Linked DNA regions of Homo sapiens: all the other regions are linked to region 4. Evidence: promoter capture Hi-C in 16 types of primary human blood cells and fetal thymus (Javierre and others, 2016). All regions are on one chromosome and are shown on one strand. Each heading gives the region's core, a stretch centred on a gene start or on the middle of the fragment in contact. The rest is flanking DNA. Distances are from core to core; before and after follow the strand shown.

Region 1 (2,803 bases), core at 133-2,632, 650 kb after region 4:
GGCAAATTTTTCTGTATTTTTGGTAGAGATGGGGTTTCACCATTTTGCCAGGCTGGTCTCGAACTCCTGAGCTCAAGCAATCCACCCGCCTGGGCCTCCCAAAGTGTCAGGATTATAGGCATGAGCCACTGTGCTTGAGTATCATCTTTTTTTTTTTTTTTTTTTTTCAGGCACCAAGATTTTTATTTACCCACCTTCCTGCTTTCTTTTAACATTAAAACCATATTATTCTCTTTTTGAACCAGGGTTGTGATAGGAACCATCTTGTTACAAAGTAGTAGCAGATCTATGCTTGCTTTTATGTTTTTATAGCCCCTCTGGCTGTCACTTCTCTGTCCTTTCTCAGTTATCCCTTTACAGTCTATTCTGACCCCTGTAAAACAGGGACTAAAAGTACCAACCTCATTGTTATGAGGTTTAAGAGAAGGCCCAGCCCTAAGCCAGGCTCTCAGGAAAATTCAAACAACAGTTCCTCTTTGCCTTTCAATATAGCTCCTTCTCATCTGTCATGGGCTGGGGAACCACTGAACCTGTAAACCACGGGTATAAGTCCACAGACCAGGAACACGGTATAAGTCCACAGACCAGGAACCTTACCTGAATGGTAAGGTACATGGGCTTTGTGACTCCACTACCAACTTCCAAACTAAGGAAGGACTGACTGGGCGCCAGTGGCTCATGCCTGTAATCCCAGCACTTTGGGAGGCCGAGGCATGAGGGCAAGAGATCGAGACCATCCTGGCCCACATGGTGAAACCCCGTCTCTACCAAAAATACCAAAAAAAAAAAAAAAAAAAAGGAAGGACTGACTTAGTGAGCAGTTCCAAGACCACTCAACTCATGGTTCCTTGTGGATGCCTCCCTTGTACCTCCATCATGACCAGGGCTTGAGGAGGGGCCTCTCAATTTCCCCGCCACACTTGATATAGTGTTAGGGATGCAGCAGAGGCCAAAAACTGAGTGACCAGCCCCATCGATGGGGGACACTAACCAACCAATCACAAAGTTGGTGCCATTTGCTCTTAGGGAGAAGAGGCGGGGCCTGAGCAAGGACAGCAGCTGGAAAGTGAAGGGCAGGCCTGACTCTCAGCAGCAGTAGTGATCCGGCTTGAAGGGGCCATCACGGGACGTGCTCAGCTACTGGGCTTGCTTCTCAGTTAGCTTGGTCAATTTCACGTTCATCTTGCCCAGGGGGGCGCCTCAGCCACTGCCTCATCCAGCTTCTTGGGCAGGAAGTGAACCCCAATGGGGTACTTGTCTGGGTGGGTCCACAGCGCAATCTGCACCATCACCTGGTTGAAGGAGTTACTCCCCACAAAGCTGGGGCGGCCCATAGCACAGCCCAGGTTGACCAGCCAACCCTCAGCCAGCACGATGATGTGGCACCCATTCTTCAGCCAGTACCAGTCCGCCTGGGCTTGATGTTTGCCTTCTCCACAGCATTGTTGTTGAGGCACCTGACATCGATCTCCACGTCAAATTGTTCAGTATTACATAAGATGGCATCATCCTTCATCTGCTCAAAGTGCCGGCCAAGGATGATATTGACACAGGTTGTGGTGGTGACAAAGATGTTGCCCTCCTGACAGGCCTCGTCCATGGTGGTCACCTCATAGCCTTCCATGGCAGCCTGCAGTGCACTGATGGGGTCAGTCTCGGTGATGATTATGCAGGCCCCAAAACCCTGCAAGGCCTGGGCACAGCCCTTGCCCACACCACCATAGCCTGCTACCACTGCTACCTTGCTGGCAATCATCACGTCTTGGTCCACTTGGTGCCATCTATAAGGGACTCCTGGCAGCCATAGAGGTTGTCAAATTTTGCTCTTGGTGACGGAGTCATTGACGTTGATGGTAGGCACCTTCAGGATTGCACTGGCCATCATCTTGTGTAGGTTGTGGACCCCGGTTTTGGTCTCCTCAGAGATGCCTCAGATGCCCGACATGAGCTGTGGGTACGTACTTGGTGTGGATGAGGTTGGTAAGGTCACCCCCATCATCCAGAATCATGTTGAGGGGCCCGTCCTTGAAGTACAGTGTCTGTTCAATGCACCACGGGTACCCCTCTTTCATTTTGCCCTTCCAGGTGAACACTGGCATGCCAGCCTCGGCAAAGACAGCCACTGCATGTTCCTGGGTGGAGAAGATGCTGCAGCTAGACCACTGCTCCTGAACACCCAGGGAGAAAAGGGTCTCAATGAGGATGGCCGTCTCCACAGTTATTTGCAGGCAGTCAGCAATGCAGGCACCCTTCAGTGGCCTGGAGGCCGAGTAAAGCTCCTGCATGCCCATCAAACCCGGCATCCATTCTCCACAATGTCTAGGGCCTTGTGTCCCCAGGTGGCCAGGCCGATGTCAGCAACTTTGTAGGGCAGTTTGTCAGACATGCTGGCGGCACCTTTGATGGACAAGGGCAAAGGGGGCTGGGCCATAGTCTGGGGACAGGCACTGGGTGGGCAGTGTTGGGCAGGCAGTGCTAGGCAGGTGAGTATCATTTTTTATAGATGTATAGTGTTTCTACATAGAAACATCATACAGCACAAAGTACTCAACTAATCCTTTGTTAACTGTTTAGATTTTTCTAATTTTTGTAATTATATAACACTCTGGTGAACATTTTTGTACATACATATTTACATCTGATTATTTATTTCCTTTGGATAGATTCTTTTTTTTTTCTCTTTTTGGGACAGGGTCTTACTCTGTTGCCCAGGCTGGAGTACAGTGGCATGATCATGGCTCACTGCAGCCTCGACTTCCCAAGCTCAGGTGATCTCCCACCTCAGCCTCCCAGGTAGCTGGGA
Region 2 (2,744 bases), core at 189-2,688, 670 kb after region 4:
AGCATGCATGGCGTTGAACAGTTTGCACTGAGAACAAAATCTGTCTTTCTCTGTGACTTTCACTTTTTTCCTATTGATTTGTTTTTGGTCTATGTAATTTAGATTATGAAGCCTTCTTAATATGAAAATGTCATCCTTTATACAATATTCAGAATGCGGTATTCTCTCTTTTTGAAAAAAAATGGAGAAAAGATTTTCTTTTTCCACTGGGGTCTTCTTTATTGTCCAACTTATGCCCCACCTACCCCCTGCCACCTTCTTCTGAGGAACAATAAAGAAAAAACTTTCATAATAGAAGTTATCTGGCTCTAAAAAAAAATCAAGAACTTTGAATAAGTAGCAAATTTATTTTCCTATTTATGAATAACATGACCTGTTTTTGTTGGTAGGTGGTTTTGAGATGCATACCAGTATATAATTAATTTCGTTAAGAAACAAATGTTTGATCTTTTGAATGACAGAATTTCCCCATTAGAAATATAATTAAAGTTAATAGTGAACAGAGTGCTTTTAATATTAGCAATTAACAAGTGTGCAGTGCATTATGGCTTACAAGGTGCTCTTAGAATGTCTAAGACCTTGCAATTCACATTTTGTTGATTTCTGCATATTATATGAATGAAAAAGGCTTATGTCCTCTGTACTTTTATTGGTGAATATTGATCAAACCTTTATAGGTTTTGTTGGGTTTCAGATTTGATATTTTGTATTTTAAACCATTGTCTTTTAAGTTTATTTTGTTAAGTGTAAATCTTGTCTTGTTTAGCTGCCCATATTTATATGATGAATAAATGGTATTTGGAGAAGAGGACTGTTTGCTTTATATTTTCTTTCCTAGACACTATACAGGGCTGAATGTTGTGGAAAGAGCCCAGAAGTAACTGAAAGTAAATGGTCATGGAGATAACAAGGTGAATCACAGAACTTGACTGTGAGGGCTCATGTGAATTTCATCTCTTTTTTTTTTTTTTGAGACACAGTCTCGCTCTGTCGCCCAGGCTGGGATGCAGTGGCGGATTCTCAGCTCACTGCAACCTCTGCCTCATAGGTTCTAGCAGTTCTCCTGCCTCAGCCTCCCGAGTAGCTGGGATTACAGGTGCCTGCCACCATGCCCAGCTAATTTTTATATTTTTAGAAGAGGTGGGGTTTTGCCATGTTGGCCAGGTTGGTCTTGAACTTCTGACCTCAAGTGATCCGCCCGCCTTGGCCTCCCAAAGTGCTGGGATTACAGGTGTGAGCCACCGCGCCCAACCTCAATTTCATTTCTTCGTATTGAAATATTTACTTCTTTCCTAGTGTAAGAATCTCTTTGGCATTATCTTTTTTTTTTTTGAGATAGAGTCTCACTCTGTCTCCCAGGCTGGAGTGCAGTGGTGCCATCTTGGCTCACTGCAACCTCTGCCTCTTAGGTTGAAGTGATTCTCCTGCCTCAGCCTCCCAAGTAGCTGGGATTACAGGCACCCACCACCACACCCAGCTAATTTTTGTATTTTCAGTAGAGACAGGGTTTCACCATATTGGTTAGGCTGGTCTCAACCTCCTGACCTTAGGTGATCCACCCGTCTCAGCCTCCCAAAGTGCTGGGATTACAGGCATGAGCCACTGCACCTGGCCCAGAATCTCTTTGGAATTATCTTAACCTGCTATTTCAGTTGTACTACTTCAAATCATTGTTTTAATAGCAAAGAGACTTACACTGTTACCTTTCATTTTTAATCTGATATTTAACACTTTGGCAGGGAAGGTAACTAATATTAACTGAGCACATATTATATGCCTGATTACCTATAAGGATTTTTTTACGTACATCGTGTCATTTAATTCTTAAACAATGCAGTAGTTAAATCTTATTAACCTTACTTTATGACTGGCAAACACTGGGATTCAGAAAGTTAAAGTAGTTTGCTCAAGCCTGTCAGGCTTACAGACTCCATGAGGGCAGGACTTCCATTTGTTTTGTTCACAGTTATACCTCTGCTGTCCAGCCCAGATAGATTCTTAATAAATATTTAGTGATTGAATTAGTGAAAAAGAAGGAACAGTTTGTAGGTATACTAGACATGCATTGTATTCTTGAGGAAAATAATGTAATCATGCCTTTCTTTTTAGTTTAGAAATCAATGTTTCTCTCACTCATAGTAATATGAGGAATAGTTTGAGAACCTGCTTAGGACAAGTGGAACTCCTTGAGATCCAGCTTATTATATTAATGATTCATTTTTTGTTTGTAACATTTTCCCTTGTATTTTTCTTAAAGGAAGAACAACAATGGACAAATGAACATTTGATGACTTTTGTAGAAAGGGTAGCTAAGTTGCAGAAGCTGAGCACTTGTCTGTAAGATGTGGGATCCTAAGTTCTTTCATTAGTTCTTTTACTAGTTATCTGTCTAGTAAAAGCAAGTAGTTTTATCTGTTAAATGAGTTAGACTAGATTTGTGATTTTTAAACAGTATTATTTGGGGACCCAGGGTTCCTCAGATGTGTTTGGGAGCCATTATAGGGACTGGAGAGGCCAACAGGTCTACTTCTGGACCTTTCACACCCAACTCTCACCTCTCACCTCCACATCACCACCCCCACTTACATCAGCTCTTCTTTCATTTGGCTTATATTTTGGATTTGTCCTTTCAGTAAAGATTTTTGAAAGAGGAATTCTCCTACTCTAACATTTTATGATAAAGAAATTTGGTAATTTATGAACTTACATTAAAATGTTTACATTATATTAAGCAGCAATATACA
Region 3 (3,145 bases), core at 52-2,551, 620 kb after region 4:
GACAATCTACAGAATGGGAGAAAATATTTGCAAACTATGTATCTGACAAAGGTCTAATATTCAGCATCTGTAAGGATCCTAAGCAAGTCTACAAGAAAAAAAAACCATTAAAAAGTGGGCAAAGGACATGAACACTTTTCAAAAGAAGACATGTGTGTGTCCAAAGAAAGCATATTTAAAAAAGCTCAATAACTGATCATTAGAGAAATGCAAATCAAAACCACAGTGAGATACCATCTCACACCAGTCAGAATAGCTATTAAAAAGTCAAAAAATAACATGGCCAGGTGCAGTGACTCAGGCCTGTAATCTCAGGACTCTAGGAGTCTGAGGCTGGTGGATTGCTTGAGCCCAGGAGTTTGACACCAGCCTGGGTAAGAGGGTGAAACCCCATCTCTACAGAAAATACAAAAATTAGCCAGACGTGGTGGCATGCGCCCATAGTCCCAGCCATTTGGGAGGCTAAGGTGGGAGAATTGCTTGAGCCAAGAAGGCATATGTTGCAGTGAGCCATGATTATGCTACTGCACTGCAGCCTGGGAGACAGAGCAGGACTCTGTCTCAAAAAAAAAAAAAAAAAAAAAAAAATTTTTTTTTGACCGGGCCTGGTGGCTTACGCCTATAATCCCAACACTTTGGGAGACAGAGGCAGGTGGATCACCTGAGGTCAGGAGTTTGACACCAGCCTGGCTAACATGGTGAAACTCCGTCTCTACTAAAAATACGAAAAAAAAATTAGCTGGGCATGGTAGCAGGTGCCTGTAATCCTCGTTACTTGGGAGGCTGAGTCAGGAGAATAGCTTGAACCTGGGAGGCAGAGGTTACAGTGAGCCGAGATCACGCCACTGCACTCTTGCCTGGGCAACACAGTGAGACTTTGTCGTATCAAAGAAAAAAAAGAATGAACTTTGGAGAGGTAGAGAAAAGGGAACACATATACACTGTTGGTGGGAGTGTAAATTAGTTCAACCATTGTGGAAAGCAGTGTGGTGATTCTTCAAAGAGCTTAAAAACCAGAACTGCCATTCAACCCAGGAATCCCACTACTGGGTATATGCCCAAAGGAATATAAATCGTTCTACCATAAAGATACATGCACGTCTGCTGGGTGTAGTGGCTCATGCCTGTAATCCCAGCATTTTGGGAGGCCGAGGCAGGTGGATCACCTGAGGTCAGGAGTTTAAGACCAGCATGGCCAACATGGTGAAACCCCATCTCTACTAAAAATACAAAAATTAGCCGGGCGTGGTGGCACGCACCTGTAGTCCCAGCTACTCGGGAGGCTGAGGCAGGAGAATCGCTTGAACCCAGGAGGCGGAGGTTGCAGTGAGCGGAGATTAAGCCACTGCACTCCAGCCTGGGCGACAGAGTGAGACTCCATCTCAAAAAAAAAAGAATGAGAAAAATATTTTCTATTTGCTTATTTTTGTATTTTCTAAGTTTCCCACAGTGAGCATGAGTTTTTGTTGTTGTTGTTTTTGTTTTTTGTTTTTTTTTTGAGACGGAGTCTTGCTCTGTCGCCCAGGCTGCAGTGTAGTGGCACGATCTTGGCTCACTGCAAACTCCGTCTCCTGGGTTCACGCCATTCTCCTGCCTTAGCCTCCTGAGTAGCTGGGACTACAGGCACCTGCCACTGCACCCGGCTAATTTTTTGTATTTTTAGTAGAGATGGGGTTTCACCGTGTTAGCTAGGATGGTGTCGATCTCCTGACCTCGTGATCTGCCCACCTCGGCCTCCCAAAGTGCTGGCATTACAGGCTTGAGCCACCGCGCCCGGCCGAGCATGAGTTTTTTTAAGAATAATTAATTTTTTTTTAGTTATATAATACAGCTGCAGGCATCTTTTAGCTCAAACTCCCTCTTTCAGGAAACACGTATGAGGTTTCTACTCTGTATCAGGCATCGTGCTGGAGCCTGGGGATATGTAGATTAATCGTGTATGGTCACTGTTTCTGGGAGCTCAGGTTCCCTAGGATAGTACACACACAAAACCCAAGAGGTGTCATGAAGGAAGCACCAAGAAGGAAGAAGTTCTACTTAAGGGTGATAACCAAGGTTCCATAGAGGAAGTAACTCTCCAAGAGATTTGTAAGCTAGTAGAAGGATTCTAGATACAGACTTTCTATAAACTGATACTCTTTGTTTGCTGGCTCTAGGTTGCTAACCTAGATGCATGGTTGGTGGAACTGTATCACTCATCGGGTCTTTATTAAATATAGGAACACAGAAGACACTGCTAGAACTTGAAGGCAAAAATCATTAAACAACTGAAAACACAAAATGAGCAGGTTGGTGGTGGTGCCAGCCTGGTTTTTAATCTCTTCAAATCCACACAAAGAACAGCAACTAGGCCAGGCGCGGTGGCTCACGCCTGTAATCCCAGCACTTTGGGAGGCCGAGGCGGGCGGATCACGAGGTCAGAAGATCAAGACCATCCTGGCTGACACGGTGAAACTCCGTCTCTACTAAAAATACAAAAAGTTAGCCGGGCATGGTGGTATGCGCCTGTAGTCCCAGCTACTCGGGAGGTTGAGGCAGAAGAATCGCTTGAACCCAGGAGGCGGAGTTTGGGAGGTTGCTGTGAGCTGAGATCATGCCACTGCACTCCAGCCTGGGCGTCTCTGTCTCAAACAAACAAACAAACAAACAAAAAACCCAGCAACTGAATAGCAAAACCAAGGGCCCAGACAGTACTTTCAACAAAGCTAGGTACAAGGTAACTTCATGAGCCCCAGAATACAGTAGTTGAGGCGAAATACCTATTGCCACAAGAACATTTTTGTAGGAGGAAAATGAAGGAAGGAAAAGAGATAGTATATGAGAGGCCTGAGAACAGGAGAATCCAAAATAGGCAACAGGTGATCAATGGAGAGTTGGGCTGCCAATCCTAAAATGTCAGCTGAAGCTGGGAGAGGCTCTCCAACAGTGGATGAGAACAAGGACCTAAGGCAAGAACGCCTGAAAGGGCTGGAGCACTGTAGCCCTTATAAACAGTTGAGGCTGATCGGCTCTCTTTTAGGACAAGGCCCCACACCAGGGAAAACTCCTGGGGCTAAAACTCCTGGGAGCAGGACAGGGACAAGAGAGGAAAGTAAGAGATGGCCCAGACTCAAGAAAGGATAAAGACAGAGGCAGGAAATGCCAG
Region 4 (2,700 bases), core at 58-2,557:
ATCCTCCTGCCCCAGCCTCCTGACTAGTTGGGACCGCAAGCACACACCACCCCACCTGGCTATTTTTTTTTTACTTTTTGTAGAGATGGGGACGTCACCATGCAGGCCAGGCATTTAACATTTAATTGGTAACTCTTCACTCCAAAATGAACATGGGTTGTATGTTACATGCATGTTTGCTCAATGGGCATGCGTCAGGACCACCCTCATGAATATTCATAGCTCCTCCTGTCACCTGCTGAATATGCATGTCTACCCAAGCTGTTCAGCATAAAGCCGCTACTCCAACCCCTCCTCCAACGAAATGCCTGTCTCTGGTCCTGGCCATTCTCCAGCCTGCGGAATGGCCACCTTGCAGGCTGTAACCCCTTACAAGAAATAAAGTCTCCTCTCCTGTTTTTTTGTTTTTTGTTTTGTTTTTTTGAGACGGAGTCTCGCTCTGTCACCCAGGCCATCTCGGCTCACTGCAACCTCTGCCTCCCAAGTTCAAGCGATTCTCCTGCCTCAGCCTCCCAAGTAGCTGGGATTACAGGCGCGCGCCACACGCCCGGCTAATTTTTGTATTTTTAGCAGAGACGGGGTTTCACCATGTTGGCCAAGCTGGTCTCGAACTTCTAACCTCAGATGATCTACCCGCCTCGGCCTTCCAACGTGCTGGGATTACAGGCGTGAGCCACCGCGCCCGGCCTCCTCTCCTTTTCCAAATTTATACATTTTGATTTTCTTAACACACCTCACTCGAGTTCGTTCACTTCGGCTGCGGCGTGATCTGCCGGCCCTCTCAGCTCAGGCTGACCTCAGCGCCCTCACTTCGGCCACTTCTGTGTCCCTCAGTCTTCTCCCCTCAACTCGGACCTCGCGCCCTCATGACAGGGCGCCATTTTCTTCCCTCTAACTCCTCAGCCCAGAGGAGGCGCCTTGGTCCCGTACCTCTGCCCGGCAAGGCGACTTTTCTTCACTTGCACTTTTGCCTCGGGTCATCCTCTGCTGCTACCTCCCCACTATCCTCACCATCTGCTCCACGTCCCGTGGCTTCCGCCCTCCCTTCCGGTGCAGGGCCCCGGCCTCATACCCACAGCCTTGGGGGCTCTCGCCCCTCAGGCCACGCCCCTCAGGCCACGCCCCTCAGCCCACAGAACTAGCGGGAAGTGACTGCGAAGCAGTCGCGCCGTGGAGGGACAGGAGGGCGGGGATTGGGAGGTGGGTCCTCCTCGATCCTGGGCGTTGATTGGCCAACTCTCACGAGGGCGGGACCTCGATTGGGGGCGGGGCGGCAATCTGGGTCTTGTGCCTCTGGCTCCTCAGGGCATTCCCGGCGGCTCCGGGTTTGGCAACGAGGACGGGGGAGTGCGACTGCGTCTCGGGCAGCATGGCCGAGAAGCGGCACACACGGGACTCCGAAGCCCAGCGGCTCCCCGACTCCTTCAAGGGTGAGTCCCGCGTCCCCTGACCCTCCCCCGTGGACCGAGCCCCCGCCCGCAGCGTGCGCTCCGAGGTCTGACAGCCGGGCTCCTGGCCAGTCTCCGCTGCTTCGGGCTGGGCGAGATCTCAAAGCCGCGGCTCCTCCCTAGTAAACTGAGCATCACGAACCCTGTTTGGCAGACTGAGGTCACGATGGAGGGGTGGCGGGCTGCCAACGGCACGTTTCCCATCGCACGGGCCCTGGTTATCTCGCGGCCGCCAGATGCCAAGCCCCATGCCAGGGCTGCACTATCTCGTGTCACGCACGCGGACTAGGAAACGCAGAGGGAACTGGCAGCCAGCGAGGCGGGGACCGGGACCCCACATCTCACCCTTTGCCCACTCCCCTTCTTTCCCGACTCACTCTCTCGAAGGCCGCCTCCTCCACCCAGCCCTGGCCTGGCCCCAGGGTGAACCCCCTCCTCCCCCAATCCCACCTCCCGAAACTTAGACCGATTTGCAGAAGGAAGAAGTCTCTCTGGCTTTCTTCTTACCTCTCTTTCTAGCTCCACTTTCTGCCCCATTTTTCCCCCTCCGCTTTCCTCTGCGTTTTGGAGAACTCTCCTTCCCGGCTTTTGTTCCTCGCCAGGAACCCTGAGTTCTCCCACCCTCACCCCCACCCTCCCTTCCCAGTCTTCAAGGCAGGAGCTGTAAGTGGCTCAGTCTCGTTCCCCTGTGGAGGAACTGGTACTCTGGGGAGGGGGTTCCAATAAAGAGAGATGGTGGACCTCTCAGGAGTCCTGGTACCCACTCAGGAGCTCTTAGTGATCCAGAGGAATTACAGTGTTTCTAAAGATGGAATTTCAGGCAGGATGGCAGTGAAAGCAATTTAGAGGGCTGGGTGGTCCTTTCCAGGACCCCTCAAAGAACATGACATTGGAGTCATCTATTCTGATTATTTGTAAAGCCAGCTTTATCCACAGCATCTTAGCTATAAGTTCCATTTCCCTTGTCCAGGGATCCCTGTGTTCAGTTCCTTCCCAGGAGCATCAAAGGAATTACAGAAATCTTTATTCCTCACTTTTTGTCTACTAATAACGTTGCAGGTTATCTTCCCAAATGGAGAGTGTAACAGGGAGGAGTTGATGAGAATAATGGCAACCACAACAACAAAAATTGAAACTAAATAGGTCAGGCTCCGTATCACTTTTTTTTTTTTTTTTGAGACGGAGTTTCGCTTTTCTTGCCCAGGCTGGAGTGTGATCTCCGCTCACTGCAACCTCCGCCTCCCGAGTTCAA
Region 5 (2,700 bases), core at 172-2,671, 750 kb after region 4:
GGCAAAATAATTCTTTTCATGGTTATGGTTTCTAAAAGCAGCTAGTAGTGAGAGAAATAAATGGGTTCTTTGTTTGGAATTATAATAAAAGTGGAATCCAACGTGAAGGAGTGCAAATACTGTATTTAAAATTACAAGCTTTATATAAAACCACTCTCGTCAAGTGACTTTATTTTCAACAGTGCTGTGATAAGGTTGCCCTCTGGTGGCCACTTACTGTGTTTTCACAGTCCTATTTTCACCCCCTCTACTGTTTTGCTATACCTTGTGTTTTAGATTGAAGTAGATTTTCAAAGTACTCTTTTTTTGTGGTAAGATATATTTGGATAAACATTTTGGAAAGCAATTTGACAGTAAGTATTAGAAATCTTAAAAATTGTTCTTTGATCTGGTAGTTCTATTTCCAGGAATCTATTCTAAGGAAAGAATTCTAAATTCTTAAGAAGGTTATATTCAGAGATGCTCACCAAAATGGTAGTTACAATTTTAAAAAGTTAGGCAACCCAATTTCTCACAATAGGGTATTAAGTAAATACTGTTATCTAGGCAGTATATTATTAAAAACACAGAAAACCAAATGTTGACCTTACCTTGAGCAAGTTGCTTAATCTGTTTCTTCATCTATAAATTTGATATAATAGCAGTAACTGCCTAGTGGGTTGTCGTGAAGATTAAATGCAATACACTTGTACAGCCTTTATATAGTGCCTGGTCCATCACAAGTAATCAGTAAATGGTAACTGTTACTATGTTCTCGATAAAATGTTTTGTTTTGTTTTGTTTTTTCTGAAACAGAGTTTCACCCTTGTTGCCCAGGCTGGAGTATGGTGGCGCGATCTCGGCTCACTGCAACCTCCACCTCCTGGGTTCAAGCGATTCTCCTGCCTCAGCCTCCCAAGTAGCTGGGATTACAGGCGCCCACCACCACGCCCGGCTAATTTTTTGTATTTTTAGTAGAGACGGGGTTTTGCCATGTTGGGCAGGCTGGTCTCGAACTCCTGACCTCAGGTGATCCGCCTGCCTCGGCCTCCTAAAGTGGTGGGATTACAGATGTGAGCCACTGTGCCTGGCTGATAAAATGTTTTAAAGAATGATATATAGCAATATGAGAAAGTGAAAGAAGCAAGGTATAAAATAACTTATGCCATATAATTAGACTAGTTAAAAAACAAAAGCCAAACCCCTGTAAATGAGGAAAGATTACAAAGAGAAGTACTAAAAATCTTTTTTTTTTTTTTGAGACCGAGTCTTGCTCTGTCACCAGGCTGGAGTACATGGCACGATCTCGGCTCACTGCAACCTCTGGCTCCCGGGTTCAAGCGATTCTTCTGCTTCAGCCTCCCAAGTAGCTGGGATTACAGGCGCCCACCATCACACGCCCAGCTAATTTTTGTATTTTTAGTAGACACGGGGTTTCACCATGGTGGCCAGGCTGATCTTGAACTCCTGACATTAGGTGATCCACCCATCTCGGCCTCCCAAAGTCCTGGGATTACAGACTTGAGCCACGGAGCCCAGCCTAAAAATCTTAATGAGAGATTTCCTAGGATGATTTTTTACCCCTTTCTACTCCTGTATTTTTCTAGATTTTCTTTATTAAGCACGTTTCCCTTAAAATGGAAGTGGGGGGATATTATTTTTAAAACTGGAACTTCATGTTCATATAATATACTTCCTTTGAAAATCCAGTGTACCTTTATGTATTCATAGTGTCCCATGATGAGTAACTTGACCTGAGCAGCTTGACTGAGTTGACCAATCCTCTACTCCCCAATGATACTTACTTCAGAGTATCATGCTTTCCTAGTTTTTGTGCTACCTAACCAGCTTTTCCTTCTTATTTGTTCTACTACATCTTCCTCAGTTCAGCTCCAAGCACTGGAGTGCCTCAGGGCTCAGAGCTTGTCAAGTTTGTCTTTGCCATTTAAACTTTCTCCCTAAGTGGTCTCATTCAGTCCCCTGGATTTAATTTGTATTTGTTTGTTTGTTTTAGCTCATTTTCCCCCTTAACCCTGGATTTAATTTAAATGCCATCTATATATGTGCTTATTATCAGATTTGCATTTCTCCGTTGATCTCCACACTCAAATATCCAACTGTCAAATATCCACTTGTTTTAATTGGCATTATATACCTAACACATCCAAAACAACTTTTTTTTCAACTTATAAGTTAAGCCTGCTCTATTCATTTCACCAAGTTACTCAGTCCCAAAGCCTAGTAGTCATTTTTGATTTTGCTCCTTTTTATTACTGCAAATATCCAGCTCATCAGTATATTCCATCAGCCCTATCTTCAAAACATACCCTGAATCTGACCACTGTTCATGACTTTTATTGCATCATCCTTGCCCAAGCCACTGTCATCTCTTTGAACTACTTTGGCACAGTCTCATCTGGCCTTTCAGCCTCCTCTCTTCTCTCCCTATTCTCTGATCCCCACCCCACCACAGTTAGTCTCCACATAACAACCAGAGCAATCTTTTTAAAATGTAAAACCAGATCATGTCATTTTCATGCTTAAGCCCTCCAATGGCTTCTCATCCCTTTTGGAATAAATAAAATTCAAACATCTCTCTATGGCCTATCTGGTTTTACATTTTCTGGGCCCTGCCTTTCTCTCTGACCTTATGCCCTGTTACTCTCTCCCTTGTTAACCTGGGCTCCATACTGGCCTTCTTTCAGTTTGACAGGTTAAAGC
Region 6 (3,047 bases), core at 350-2,849, 580 kb after region 4:
ACCACTAACAATTATGTTGCTTTCACTCTTGACTAGGCCAGGTTCTGATAGAGGAGGAGGGGAAAACACATTTACACTGTTTTCCAGAAGGTCCTGTCTCTAATACCTCTGAGTATAGGTTTTGGGAGAATGGGTACTGGGCAAAATATTGAGCCTGCTACTTCCTGTGCCATTCTGGGAAGGCCACTCCACTTCTTGAGCCGTAAATTTCCTCATTAATGTTAGTTAAGGGCGGCATTACTGATACCTTCCATGAGGTTATGAAGATGAAATGAGATAATGTTTACCAGTGGTACTTTTTCTTTAAAACCAATATAAATATGTGAGTTGCCTAGGTAACATAGGGAGTTAATGGCAGAACCTGAGACCAAACCCAGGCTCTCATTTTCCAATTTAGGAGTCTTTTTGTTGCATGACCCACTTTGTGATTATTGATACTGAAGGCAAGAGGGCAAGTTGAATGTTAACTCTGGGGTAGGGACGTAGGGTAAGGGGGCCAAACAGCAGGGAATGTGGGTAGAATAAGGCACCTACTGGGAAACTAGAGCCTCCAATAAACAGGTGCTCTTCTTTATAAAATTAAACCCCTAGTAAGTTTGAGCCCTTGAGTTTTTCTTCCAGGTATTTTGAAGAGAAACTTAGTGATAAGATGATAGGGTCAAAAGAGATGTTAGTGGTCATGTCCATTCCACCCTTAGTGTCACAGAAATCTTTACTGCCAGGTGTTCATAGTAGTAAAACTAACAAAAAGTACCATTTGAGTTTTTACCCGCTAGACTGTACACTGTGCTAAGCATGTCCCTGCTATATTTCTGAGTTTCACCCTTCAAGTTGGATGATGGCTTCCATTTTACAGATGATAAAACTGAAGCTTAAAAGTTAGTTGGACATGCCCATAATCACATAGGAAGTGGCTGAATCAGTAAAACATCTGGCCAACCTCCAAAGTATTTTCATTTATCACATTCTGCCTCTGTGTCCAACTGTCCTTGACTGTTCGTGGTAATGGGAAACTCACTACTCTGGAGGTAGCTATTCCATTGTTGGAAAGCGCTGAGATTTAAAAGCTCCTCATGTTGAATTGAAATCCCATTTCCTGAGGTTTGTGCAACCAGTGTATGATATTTCTAGAGGCTGCCTAAAAGAGTCCAGTTTAGACCTGTTACCTTAGAAGGCCCCCTCCAAAGTTAGTTGATCTGTTCAGAAAAGTAAAAATTGGTGTTTTTTAAATAGTGCATTCTGCAGTTAGTGAGACTTGCTTTTTTAGGGAAAAAAATGCCTTTTTCAGAATAATCAGAGGTGAACTGCTCAATCTTACAAGGGATTGAGTGGTTTAAAAGGCAATCTAAGAGTTGGGAAAATTTTTTTTATTAAGAGTTAGGAGAATATATAAATCTGAGACATGGCTGAATTTTTTTAGATGTGCTCTCTGAAAAAGCTTCTTCCGTAATCTTTAGCGGTGTCATGGGCACATTAATTTGGCATTTTTTTTTTAAATTTAAGTTCTAGGGTACATGTGCACAACGTGCAGGTTTGTTACATAGGTATACATGTGAATTTGGCATATTATAGTATGTCTCTTAGATATTTGTGAATGATGGGAACCTGATAATATTTTAATGAGTATTCTAAATTTGCCTTGTAGCCGTTTGAATAACAGTTCAGCTCACTTAAATACAAGCATTTCTACAATAGATGTGTGTCAGCATGTGTATGTATGTGTGTATATATGTATGTGTAGATGTGATGGAGGAAGCTTGCCACACCACACTTTTCACTGTTAAAAATGTTTCAGGAGCAGGTGTGTGGTTTTTTTTCTTTTTTTTCTTTTTTGAGATGGAGTCTTGCTCTCTCGCCCCGGCTGGAGTGCAGTGGCGTGATCTCGGCTCACTGCAAGCTCCGCCTCCTGGGTTCACGCCATTCTCCTGCCTCAGCCTCCCGACTAGCTGGGACTACAGGCACCCACCACCATGCCAGGGGAATTTTTTGTATTTTTAGTAGAGATGGGGTTTCACTGTGTTAGCCAGGATGATCTCGATCTCCTGACCTCGTGATCCGGCCGAGCCCACCTCAGTCTCACAAAGTGCTGTGATTACAGGCGTGAGCCACTGTGCCCAGCCTGGTGTGTGTTTTTAATTGACCAGTATTAATTAACTAGCTATTGTGACAATATGCAGATGCCCACAGAAGATAATTGCTTTGTCTTGTTGCAAATTATTATTTTTTAGAAGTAGAGATTTTGAAGAAATGTTGTATAGATAAGAGGGTTGTTAGGATTTAGAGGAAGGAGGGGGCTTGTTATTGCGTGATAAGTCGATAAAACTTTTAGCCATCTGATTATTTTTTGTCAGCTAGGTAAATTTTTAATACAGATTAATAAATCTTCTCTAGCCCAAACTTTGGCTTGAAACGTATTATCTTGAAGTCTAGTCACAGTTCCAGAAATCAAAACTGTTAGCAGATGATGTGATTGCAAGGTTTGGTTGCTTCTACTAATAAATCAGATTGCTTATTTGTCTAAGAATGTTATTGCCAAATTTGATATTGGACACTTACAATTTTACTCACCTTACATTATCAAAGTTGAAAGATGAGATCTTGCTTTTTGTGTAGACCTGATCTAGGTGATATGTCTGGAAAGAAATTAACTTTCCTTTTTCACATTAATTTGGACATATGTTTTTAAAATTAATATGACAGTCTTGTGAGAAACTGAGTATTCAGAAGGAAAGTTTTTATTAAACCATGGAAATATTTAAATATATGGAAATAAAGAGAATAATAAATCCCTATGTACACATCACCCAGCATTAACATCTATCAACACATAGTCTTGAGAAAGATAGTTTTTACTGGTTATATTTTTTGTAATCTTTCATTAGTCTAATCCTCATTAAGAGTGAATTAACACCTGTTGACACTAATACAGGATACTTTAAAAAAAATTATTTGTTACAGTTAGCTCAGGAGCAATTTGTCATTCTCCTAAAGGAGAAAATGGTCTAACGGGTAGACACACTACCTCCAGATCTTACCACTTGGTCGTG
Region 7 (2,824 bases), core at 126-2,625, 600 kb after region 4:
TTTTTTTTTTTTTTTTTTTTTCTGAGACAGGGTCTCACTCTGTCACCCAGGCTGGAGTGCAGTGGTAGAATCTTTGCTTACTGCAACCTCTGCCTCCCAGGTTCAAGTGATGCTCGTGCTTCAGCCTCCCAAGTAGCTGGGATTACAGGCGTGTGCTATCACGCCTGGCTAATTTTTGTATTTTTAGTAGAGACAGGGTTTCACCATGTTGGCCAGGCTGGTCTTGAACTCCTGACCTCAGGTGATCCACCTGCCTAGGCCTCCCAAAGTGCTGGGATTACAGGCGCGAGCCACCGTGCCTGGCCCATTATTGGATCTTTTATACTGTCCCGTGTGATAGGCATTATCTTCATTGCAGGAGCTGGAGTTAAGAGAGATTAAATAATTTACCCAAGATTGCACAGGAGAATTAAGACTTGAACCTGTGATTCTTGGCTATAAAACCTGGGGTCTTTCCAGTATACTTCACTTTCTATCTGACTTCACAAATGCAGACCATTTTAAGGACAAGCTTTTCTGTAGTGATGTGATCTCTCATCTTTCCTCATTTTCTTTTTTCTGTAGATTTGGCCAATTGGGAGAGAAATCAACTGTAAGTGCTTAAAGACATTGTCTGTCTCTGAGGATAGAAGTATCTGCCTGCAGCCAAGACTTCATTTTGATGGCAAATACATTGTCTGTAGTTCAGCACTTGGTCTCTACCAGTGGGACTTTGCCAGTTATGATATTCTCAGGTAATGTTTCCTTCGACCTCACGCTTTACCTTTGAAAGCCTGCTGCAGTTCAGTAGTAAAGACAAGACTAAATGTTTGGATGTACCAGTCAGTAGCTGGCTTTTAGGAAATGTATACTGTATCACTTGTAAACAGGGTTATATATACTGAACATCTCAGACAGGAAAAATATTTTAGAGGAAGTAAGCAAATGAAAAAGAGTTACGTACTGGAACGTCCGCTGCCTGACTGTGAGTCATGAGCCACTTCTTTCAGATTTAACATGCTTTTCTGGAAAATGAGGGGCATGGATGAAAAGATCTTTCAGATCTCCATAAGTTCTAATATTTTAAGTCCTATTTCATATTCTGTTGAAATTCTGCATTGTTTTACAAACTTGGTAAACTTTAGTGGTATCTAGGGATCAAGTGACCTTCTGTTGACTAGTAGAAAGACAGAGACTTAGAGAAAAATAAAATTTGCAGGGTTTCCCTCCAAAGAAGTAAATAAGCAGCAGTCCATAGACAAATAATTTTGTGATTCACTGCATACCATAGGCTCTTCTTGGAGAAGGACAGTATCTGTTAGCATATTTGGGGCTGATGGAAGCCAGTGCCATGTGGTCATTAAGAGAACTTTGGTGATAGACAAACCTTGGTTTAAGATGTGGTGCCATCTCTAATGGGCTGTGTGATTTAGTATAAGTTTCTTAACTCCTCTGTAGCTCAATTTCATCATCTATAAAGTGACTATTAAATGAAATGCTTGTGATGAGGACCTAGTATACCACCTGGCAGATCTTTATTAATAATAAGTCTGAGAGGACCCATGTAAAGAAACCTGTTTGAATTTGTTGAACCTACTGTACTTCACACCTGTTGTGCACACACTTATTAATAACAACTCAAAAAGTTAGCGTCCCATAGCATGGTTCAGGACTTGGAGGAGTACAGAAAATTGAACATTCTCTTCATTGTTTTTTTTTTTTTTTTTGAGATGGAGTCTCGCTCTGTCGCCCAGGCTGGAGTGCAGTGGCACAATCTCTGCTCACTGCAGGCTCCGCCTCCAGGGTTCACACCATTCTCCTGTCCCAGCCTCCCGAGTAGCTGGGACTACAGGCGCCCGCCACCATGCCCGGCTAATTTTTTGTATTTTTAGTAGAGACGGGGTTTCACTGTGCTAGGCAGGATGGACTCAATCTCCTGACCTCGTGATCCACCCGCCTCGGCCTCCCAAAGTGCTGGGATTACATGCGTGAGCCACCGCACCCGGCCTCTTCATTGTTTTTATGCATGACTATTTGAGGTCAGCTCGTGTGGATCTGATCACAATAACCACAAAACTTTGGTGGGCCACATCTCTCTGATCACAAAGTTACAACCCCATTTATGTCTTCCTGGAATCAGACCAACATTTCTAACCAGTTAGGTTTCAGAGCTGTCAGAATCAGTTATAGAAATGATTGATATTTATGCTTTGAGAAAAAAGACTGAAACCTTTCCTAGAAAACATCTGTTTAAGCTTTTCCTCTTGTAGGTAGGGAAACTGAAGCTGAGACAGGGTAGGGGCCTTGCCCAGCATTCCACCTCTCACTGTATTCCAACATTCGTCCATTCATGCATGGCTGGATTATCCAATAGGTATATACTTATGGTACTAGAAAGCCAGGGACACCAAAAACAGGGGAAAATAAAGTTTTGAAAGAATCTGATATTTTGTAAAGCAAAATATTCAAGTAATCACCATGGGAAAATCACATCTTTTATAGTTCAATATTGTTTTTGTTTTGAATTAAAATTTTAGGTGGGAAGGTGCAAAGGCAAGGTGGGCTAGAGATGTCATAGTTGTTTTAATGCTTAGCATCTCTAAAGGGTTTAATTTGGTCCCACATCTGCTTTCTCATGTATGCTTGTGACTCAGAGTGGCATATAGAGACTCTAGAGTCCTAGATGAAAGTTGCTAGTTTTTAGTGTTTGAATAATAGTTTTAAATAATAAACCTGTAAGATTGTTTGCGGGTAGGAGTTGCCAGGTTCAGATTTTTTCTCCGAAAAGAGTCTGTCTTGTGTCTGCTTTTTTCCTCCCAAACACAGATAAACCAACCTCTGTTGA

Evidence for each region. The method cuts DNA at HindIII sites, captures the fragments that hold promoters and counts their contacts. A CHiCAGO score of 5 or more calls a contact.
Region 1: a fragment that was not itself captured here is called in contact with the fragment with the promoter of STOM in region 4 in 1 of 17 cell types (neutrophils); the score reaches 7.4 in neutrophils.
Region 2: a contact is called between a fragment that was not itself captured here and the fragment with the promoter of STOM in region 4, in 3 of 17 cell types (activated CD4 T cells, neutrophils and naive CD4 T cells). The highest score is 5.8, in activated CD4 T cells.
Region 3: a fragment that was not itself captured here is called in contact with the fragment with the promoter of STOM in region 4 in 10 of 17 cell types (total CD4 T cells, naive CD4 T cells, activated CD4 T cells and 7 more); the score reaches 11.9 in total CD4 T cells.
Region 5: a fragment that was not itself captured here is called in contact with the fragment with the promoter of STOM in region 4 in 4 of 17 cell types (total CD8 T cells, naive CD4 T cells, neutrophils and 1 more); the score reaches 5.7 in total CD8 T cells.
Region 6: a fragment that was not itself captured here is called in contact with the fragment with the promoter of STOM in region 4 in 1 of 17 cell types (non-activated CD4 T cells); the score reaches 6.3 in non-activated CD4 T cells.
Region 7: a contact is called between a fragment that was not itself captured here and the fragment with the promoter of STOM in region 4, in 2 of 17 cell types (naive B cells and naive CD4 T cells). The highest score is 5.2, in naive B cells.

Annotation. Positions count from the first base shown.
Region 1 is chr9:120,720,256-120,723,058 of GRCh38, reverse strand. It overlaps the pseudogene AHCYP2. Among named protein-coding and RNA genes, the nearest start is that of MEGF9, 7.2 kb to the right of the region's middle. The HindIII fragment of the contact is 4,871 bases long and covers 1-2,803 here.
Region 2 is chr9:120,702,561-120,705,304 of GRCh38, reverse strand. All of the region lies in intron 1 of MEGF9 (multiple EGF like domains 9), which reads left to right. Among named protein-coding and RNA genes, the nearest start is that of MEGF9, 11 kb to the left of the region's middle. The HindIII fragment of the contact is 2,993 bases long and covers 1-2,744 here.
Region 3 is chr9:120,752,386-120,755,530 of GRCh38, reverse strand. No RefSeq gene overlaps it. Among named protein-coding and RNA genes, the nearest start is that of FBXW2, 39 kb to the left of the region's middle. The HindIII fragment of the contact is 3,828 bases long and covers 1-3,145 here.
Region 4 is chr9:121,368,857-121,371,556 of GRCh38, reverse strand. STOM (stomatin) reads left to right here and starts at 1,307. Exons shown (of 7, transcript NM_004099.6): 1 at 1,307-1,430. The coding sequence starts at 1,370. It overlaps LOC102723324 (a long non-coding RNA gene), which reads right to left and starts at 1,664. Exons shown (of 7, transcript NR_187160.1): 1 at 1,591-1,664. RefSeq lists enhancers at 793-882, 342-1,302. The HindIII fragment of the contact is 8,041 bases long and covers 1-2,700 here.
Region 5 is chr9:120,617,436-120,620,135 of GRCh38, reverse strand. All of the region lies in intron 3 of MEGF9 (multiple EGF like domains 9), which reads left to right. Among named protein-coding and RNA genes, the nearest start is that of CDK5RAP2, 39 kb to the right of the region's middle. The HindIII fragment of the contact is 2,561 bases long and covers 141-2,700 here.
Region 6 is chr9:120,789,270-120,792,316 of GRCh38, reverse strand. The region is part of intron 2 of FBXW2 (F-box and WD repeat domain containing 2); the gene reads left to right. Among named protein-coding and RNA genes, the nearest start is that of FBXW2, 2.6 kb to the left of the region's middle. The HindIII fragment of the contact is 318 bases long and covers 1,441-1,758 here.
Region 7 is chr9:120,769,258-120,772,081 of GRCh38, reverse strand. FBXW2 (F-box and WD repeat domain containing 2) reads left to right here. Exons shown (of 8, transcript NM_012164.4): 7 at 565-734. Among named protein-coding and RNA genes, the nearest start is that of FBXW2, 23 kb to the left of the region's middle. The HindIII fragment of the contact is 1,723 bases long and covers 514-2,236 here.